Regions from separate parts of the Homo sapiens genome. Here region 1 is linked to region 2. Evidence: promoter capture Hi-C in 16 types of primary human blood cells and fetal thymus (Javierre and others, 2016). All regions are on one chromosome and are shown on one strand. Each heading gives the region's core, a stretch centred on a gene start or on the middle of the fragment in contact. The rest is flanking DNA. Distances are from core to core; before and after follow the strand shown.

Evidence for each region. The method cuts DNA at HindIII sites, captures the fragments that hold promoters and counts their contacts. A CHiCAGO score of 5 or more calls a contact.
Region 1: a fragment that was not itself captured here is called in contact with the fragment with the promoter of CSTL1 in region 2 in 6 of 17 cell types (activated CD4 T cells, naive CD4 T cells, total B cells and 3 more); the score reaches 7.3 in activated CD4 T cells.

What each region holds. Positions count from the first base shown.
Region 1 is chr20:23,332,363-23,336,162 of GRCh38, reverse strand. The region is part of intron 1 of NXT1-AS1 (NXT1 antisense RNA 1); the gene reads left to right. It overlaps LOC105372571 (a long non-coding RNA gene), which reads left to right and starts at 296. Exons shown (of 3, transcript XR_937379.3): 1 at 296-3,596. The HindIII fragment of the contact is 7,152 bases long and covers 1-3,800 here.
Region 2 is chr20:23,436,948-23,440,981 of GRCh38, reverse strand. CSTL1 (cystatin like 1) reads right to left here and starts at 1,297. Exons shown (of 4, transcript NM_138283.1): 1 at 1,176-1,297; 2 at 496-838. The coding sequence starts at 714. The HindIII fragment of the contact is 9,312 bases long and covers 1-4,034 here.

The DNA of each region.
Region 1 (3,800 bases), core at 255-2,754, 110 kb after region 2:
TTTTCTTGTCGCCCAGGCTGGAGTGCAGTGGCATGATCTCGGCTCACTGCAACCTCCACCTCCCGGGTTCAAGTGATTCTCCTGCCTCAGCCTCCTGAGTAGCTGGGAGTACAGGCGCCTGCCACCATGCCCAGGTAATTTTTGTATTTTTAGTAGAGACGGGGTTTCACCATGTTGGCCAGGCTGGTCTCGAACTCCTGACCTCAAGTGATCCACCCGCCTCAGCCTCCCAAAGTGCTGGGATTACAGGCTTGAGCCACTGCGCCTGGTCAGTTTTTTTTTTTTTTTTAAGTTTCTTCTTGGCATCACCAGTTAAAAGAGATTGAGAACAAGAACGTTCTTTCAGCGTGCCCACACCCCTGCCTGGCTTAACGGGTTTGAAATGTGAGGGGAAGCCAAGTAGCCAGCTTGCCTCTGTTACTCATGGCCCAGTGGGTCGGCTCATGACCCTCAGGCCAGCCTGTGCCACTTTGGTGACTGGTGGCTACTTTGTGGTCAACTCTTGAAGCATCAGCACAGCATGAACAAACCAAAAGTGAAATTCAGAAATGGCTGCAGAAGCCAAACTGTTACCCAGCCCCTCTGAAATCCCCCAAGCACTGGGGGAGCCACAACCAGTTTGGGGGCCATTAGGAACATTTTAATCTATAAGGCTATGTGCTATGGAGGGGTAGGGGAGAGATGGTTGCAGGAGGCCATGGGAGGGTTGAGACCCACAGGCCAGAGTCCAGGCCATAAGACCCTCATGATGAGAATGTTGACAATAACAAAATACTACTACTACTACTGCTGCTACTACTACTGCTGCTGCTGCTGCTGCTGCTGCTGCTGCTACTACTGCTACTACTTACGTTTTAACATTTTTCAGAGCTTTGCTATTTATGATTATTCTGTCCTAGATGATTGCAGCAACATTATGAAGTACGTCTCAGGTTGAGTCCCCTAGAAACAGACCCTGAGATGGAGATTTGCATGTAGGGGTTCGTTGGGGAGGGGATCTTGGGAGTCCCACCTGGGAAGGGTAAGAGAGCAGTGGGGCTTTGATGCTGCTGCAACAGAGGCCTCCACTGGCCCCTGGGGAGCTTGGAGCTTTGGAAACCTGCAGAGTTGAAGCAAGGGTTCCCCGTGTCCCTTCCATAGGCTGCTCATTAGACCAGCGGGGGGTTTGGTGAGGATGCAGAAGGCGCTCAGCCACCAGTGTGGAAGGGGTACCCTGGCCTTGGAGCAGAATCTGAAGAGGACACTGAGCACCCACCACACATGGGCACTCTCAGGATCTCTGCTACAGAGCAGGTGCTGAGTAGTGAGATTTGCCCAGGGAATGAGCCTACCTGGTGGGATCATCATGTGGACCTGGAGGTCCTGACTTACTCAAGACCACTCAGCTACTAAGTGGCCACACTGGGATTCCAGCTAAAGACTGTTTTAGGTTAGAGCTTCCTGATCTCAGAATGGACCCCCTGACCTAAGAATAGGACCCCCCCCCACCTCAGGATGGACTCCCCAACATTAGAATAAACTCTCTGACCTCAGAATGAATTCCTGGGCCTAAGAATGAACTTTCTGACCTCAGAATGGATTCCCTGACCTCAGAATAGACTCTCTGACCTCAGAATGGACCCCCTGACCTAAGAATAAATCCCCCACCTAAGAATGAACCTCCAACCTGAGAATGAACTCCCGAAGCAATAATGGATTCCCTAACCTAAGAATAGACTCTTCAACCTAAGAATAAACTTCCTGACCCAAGCATGAATCCCCTGACCTAATAATAGACTCCCCAACCTAAACAGGAACTTCCTGACCTAGGAATGAACTGCCTGACCTCAGAATGAACTTCTTTACTTAAGAATGAACTTTCTGCCATCAGAATGGACCCTTGACCTCAGAATGAACTCCCCGACCTCAGAATGAACTCCCTGACCTCAGAATGGACTCCCTGACCTCAGAATGGACTCTCTGACCTCAGAATGAACTCTCTGAACTCAGAATGAACTCTCTGAACTCAGAATGAACTCCCTGACCTCAGAATGGATTCCCCGACCTAAGAATGGACTCCCTGACCTAGGAATGAACTCTCTGACCTCAGAATGAACTTTCTGAACTCAGAATGGACTTCCTGACCTCAGAATGGATTCCCTGACCTAAGAATGAACTCCTTGATCATTTTGCAGGTGATGCTCGGGAGCACCAGTAGGGAGTGGGAAAGCAAACAGGGAAGGGAAAGAAGGCCAGCCAGGCACAGTGGCTCATGCCCATAATTCCAGCACTTTGGGAGGCCAAGGTGGGTGGATCACCTGAGGTCAGGAGTTTGAGACCAGCTTGGCCAACGTGGTGAAACCCCATCTCTACTAAAAATACAAAAATTAGCCAGACGTGGTGGTGCACACCTGTAATTCCATCTACTTGGGAGGCTGAGGCAGGAAAATTGCTGGAATCTGGGAGGTGGAGGTTGCAGTGAACCATGATCATGCCACTGCACTCCAGCCTGGGCGACAGTGACACTCTATCTCAAAAAAAAAAAAAAAAAGAAAGAAAGGAGGCACTGGGAATGCTGAGGGGCTCTGGCAAATGGTGATTATCTATCCAGAGCCCTTTCTGAAGCATTGCTCTGCAGACCCGCCAGCCAGGGTTTTCATTAAGTAGCATTAAGTCATAACCTTAAGTAATAAAGCAAGCATGCATAGAAGGGCAAAGCCAGTCACTTCTCAGACCCCGAACCCCTCAGTGAAGGTTGGTGCATGCAACGGGCTGGCCCTTTGGTGGAGACTGAAGAAAGAGTTTATTGCAGGTGGGAATATTATTTAAACAGGGATTGATGGAGGACAAAAGGGGCTTCTGGTTCCATGAGGCAGGAGATAAATGAGATGGGAATCCTGAGTCATGCATTTTATTCACTTCTCTGGAACGAGTTTTGGGGGCTCATTTAGCAGAGAAAATAGGACAAGAAAAATGGACTCAGCTGGCATTGGACAGAGTCAAAGCCAAATGACTTCTGGGTTCTAAATTTTTTTGTTTTGTCTTTATTCATACGTGTTGGTTGTTTGGATTGTTTTTCATTGACCATTGTAAGCTAAATCCATATCAGGAGGATCTGAAAAGCTCATAATAAAAATATAAAGTAGAGACCAAGGGTTGTAAAAGTGGCATTTTACTCAAGATATAGTAAGGCTGTTTTACAATAGTGGGTAGTAATCAATAATTTAAATGAAAACCCTCAAGGGTTAGATGATGATAGAGCTGATGTTCTTCTTATTGACCAAGATGCACCAACCAGTCTTGAAGAGGATCTCGTTTTGTAAAGGAGCCATGCAGAAGAAGAATTCCCAGAGGGAGCCTAATGTCTGTGAAATGTCATATATTGCTTACACAGAAACCAGTTACTCAAAGAGCTATGCTGTTCTTATGCCCTGTGATGGATCTACTGGGGATAGAGATAAGAGCCTGTCTGCCTGCCTCAGCCTGTGCACCTGATCGTTCTTTTCCTGAAGCAACTTGTCATGCCTTCACAGTGCACACCTGACCAGTTCCAAACCAAAAAGGGATGTGCCTGGACGTGTGTGGATAGATGGCTGAGGGAGACATTATTGTTGTTGGTGAGTGAAATTGTTCTTTCTTCCTGGGTCTGGCATTTTATTTGAATGATTCTTTAGAAATTATTTAAAAATTTTCTGCCAGGCAAAAGTTTGTGCAAATGTCAACAAATAGCTTACCCTTACCCAAAAAAGGTGAGATTTGAGGTCTGGAAGTTTATGTAGTAAGGAAGACGCTAATTCTTATGGTTTTAAGATTTATAATGA
Region 2 (4,034 bases), core at 48-2,547:
TTCGAGACCAGCTTGGCTAACATGGTGAAAACCGGTTTCTACTAAAAATACAAAAAATTTAGCCAGGTGTGGTGGTACGTACCTGTAATCTCAGCTACTTGGGAGGCTGAGGCAGGAGAATCACTTGAACCTGGGAGGAGGAGGTTGCAGTGAGCCAAGATCATGCCATTGCACTCCAGCGTGGGCAACAAGAGCGAAACTCCATCTCAAAAAAAAAAAAAAAAAGAGTTTAATCCTCAGTGAACACTTTTGCCTCTAAGTGTATTGGAGTTAGAGTTCATGCCAGTCCTTAGGAAAGCATTTTGGAAGCATGGCTAAGGACATTCTGGGATCTGAACAACTCTACAATGTACCTGCTACAAGTGAAGATGCTTCCCCCTTGGGACCTCACGGAGGACCACCACTTGGTTCTCTTGGGAGCTACCCCAGAATCCTCACATGTCTGAACTGGCAAGAACAGGGCCTGCTGATGTCTTGGGAGAGCAAGGTACAAACCTGCATCTGACTTCGAATTAGCCTCTGGACTCGATATAAGTAGGTGTCGTTGCTGGCATTGTTGTAGGATTGAATGAAGAAGTTGAGTGTTGAATTCATGTTCTTCTTGCTCATGAGCTTCTGCTGGAAGCCCTCCCACCTTTGGAAGTGACCCAGCTTGGCTGACAGGACCAGGGCAATCAGCAGCAGCAGGGGGTTTCTCCAGCATCCGATCCCCATGTCTACAGCCTCAGAAACTTTCTTCCCAACTGCACCTTCCAGGGTGTGGTGGTGCCAGGCTGCAGTTCACTCATTCTCCCATCATAACCCTCACCAACATAGGCTTTCCTGGGGGATGGCCTGCCTGCATTTAAACAGAGATTCAGACCTGAACCTTGTCACTCAGTTTCCAGCCAGTTCATTTTCTACCCATTTACACCACCCATTCAGTTCTTTGGTGATCCAGGCAAGCAAAATTTTTAAACACCTGCTAAGGCGTGCAAGCCCCTCTCCCTGCCTTCACATGTCTCAGGGAAGAAAAGCCCCAGAACAGCCCCTACAGTGCTCTGCAATAAGAGCTGGGGTTGTAGATAGAGAAGCATCACTTACAGGAAGGGAGGCGGCCTTACGGAGAAGGTAATATCTGAACTGAGATATAAGGAAGCAGTCATATGGAGCAAGGAGTGGTACATTATTCTTACCTTCCTTGGGTTCCAACTGTCTTACAAAGCCACCACCTGTTCCCTGTGCTTCCTTTACAGACACGTTCTCCTTGCTCACCTGCCGCCCGCCCACCACAGATTTCTGCTTGCAGGATCCCCCTATACCTGCAGGCCCTGCACTGGCTTTTGCTATCTTGTTGTGACCCTAGTGGAGCTTTGTGAGGTAATTGCAGCCTCCCTATGAGGGAGGAATAAACTGTGAGCCCCATTTAGAAATTATCCGCAGACCCCTGAAGATTAGGTGTCACTTACCCCCAAAAGCCCATGAATGCCCTATTTTAAAAACATTTGCTGGCTGGGCGCGGTGGCTCACGCCTGTAATCCCAGCACTTTGGGAGGCTGAGGTGGGTGAATCACCAGAGATCAGGAGTTCGAGACCAGCCTGGCCAACATGGTGAAACCCCATCTCTACTAAAAATACAAAATTAGCTGGGTGTGGTGGTGTGTACCTGTAGTCCCAGTTACTTGGGAGGCTGAGGCAGGAGAATCACTTGAACCCAGGAGGTGGAGGCTGAAGTGAGCCGGGAGGGTGCCGCTGCACTCCAGCCTAGGTGACAGAGCGAGACTGTGTCTCAGAAAAAAAACAAAAAACAAACAAAAAAAAACACCTTAAATGGAATCCTACCAGAAAAAAACATTAGTGGAATAGTTGATGAAATGTGAATAAAATCTGCAGATTAGTTAATAGTATTGTGTGAATGTTGATATTCTAGTTTTCACCGTTGTACTGTGATTGTATAATATGTTAACATTTGGGGAAGTGGAATGAAGGGTATACGAGAATGCTTTATGCTATTTTTGCAGCCTTTGTGTAAGTCTGAAATTATTCCAAAATAAAGGTTAAAATGTCCAAAACTAAATAAAGCGTTGTTCTGTGAGGAGTAGCGTGCTGAGGGAGGGGAAGCAGGAGACTTAGGATCCAACTGTCCTGGCTCAAGTCCTTCGCTGGGGACTCTGGGAGAGTTACCTCATCTCCCTAAGCTGGGTTTCTTCACCTGTAATATGAGAATGGGGAGAAAGACTCCACTTGAATTGTGGTAGAGACTAACTGGATGTAGGCAAAGAACCTGCTCCCAAGTCAGGTGTCAGGTGCATAAGAATGTCTTCTTCGTGATTCTTCTGTGACTCTGAACCCACACTTCACCCATGGCCTGTCATGTCCCGGAAGCCAGGCCACCTTCCATCATGACAATGTTGCTAGCACCAGTCACAACATCCTCCCTTGGCCCCAGAGCCTGTCTTGAGAGGACTTGTCCAGCCGGTGGAGGTGATACATTTGAAATTCCCTGAGCCTGAGCTGCCGAGGGCCACTTGCTGTAGAATAGATAATGAAGGATTCCGAGTAATCCGGGAAGCCACACAGACCTGTGCCGTCTCAGCATGCCCCAGACACCTGGGATACCCCCATCAGGCTGAGGCCCATAGAGAGGAAAAATAACATTGGGTGGGCCATATTAGAAACCCCATGGATGTGGGGCTCAAAGCATAAACAATAAATCTGCTTAAGAAATATGGGAGTTGGTTGTGTCCATAAAGAGGAAAATGAGTCACTGGCAATTTTAATTGAAGAAAAGGAAAACATAGACCCTGACTATGCCACAGAAAGAGATGTGAGGCGCCTAACAGGTCACACTGGCGTTCCTTAGCTTGTGTCAGCAAAATGCTGATTTCTGACTCTGTGGACATGGAATCAGGAAAAAAATATGATTCTGGTAAGGTACATGTATAAAGGGAGACAGGGAGCTTGGTTACAGCATGGAATAGGGGCAGAGCATAGTGGCTGACACCTGGGAGGCTGAGGCTAGGAGGATTGCTTCAGCCCAGGAGTTCCAGACCAGCCTGGGCAACATGGTGAAACCCCGTTTCCACAGAAAATACAAAAATTAGCCAGACATGGTGGCCCACATCTGTAGTCCCAGCTACTCTGGAGGCTGAGGTGGGAGGATCACCTGAGCCCAAGAGAGGTCGAGGCTGCAGTGAGCTGAGATCACACCAAGCACTCCAGCCTGGGCGACAGAACAAAGGGAAATAGAGGGCTTAGTTGTTGTCTGGTTACTGCCATGAAACAATGGAAAAATAGGGGCCTGAGTATTTCCGTGGAACAAGAGTAAATTAGGAGTGCTGGCTATAACAAATAGGAGCCCTGTTCTTGCCAATAAAAGAAGGGAAAAATATGAGCTCTGGTTAGACCATGGAATAACAGGAAATATGAGGTCTGCTCATGTCTGTGGAATAAGGAGCATAGGAGAGAAGGATTGCAGAAGGGCATGAGAAAACTTCAGGTGATAGATATGTCTGTTGTATGAATTGTAGTGATAATTCCACAGGTGCATACGTATGACAAATTTCATCAAATTGTACACTTTAAATATGTGCAATTTGGCCAGGCGCCGTGGCTCACACCTGTAATCCCAACACTTTGGGGAGGCCAAGGTGGGCAGATCACATGAGGCCAGGAGTTCAAGACCTGCCTGGCCAACATGGTGAAACCCCATCTCTACTAAAAAACACAAAAATTAGCCGGGGAGCACATGCCTGTAGTCTCAGCAACTCTGGAGGCTGAGATGAAAGGATCGCTTGAGCCCTGGAGGTCTAGAATGCAGTGAGCTGTGATTGTGCCACTGCACTCCAGCCTGCCCAGCAGAGTAAGACCCCGTCTGAAAAAAAAAAAAAAAAAGAAAGAAAGAAAAAGTATGTTTCCCAGGAGTCCAGCAAACTGGGCCTCCTGTCTCATAAGCTGAACCTGGTAACAGGCCACTGCTGGACCAGGCATGATGGCAAGTGTGGGATTCCTGTTGGATCAACCCGTGGCTGGGTGCTGTGTGGGCGAGATGGTGT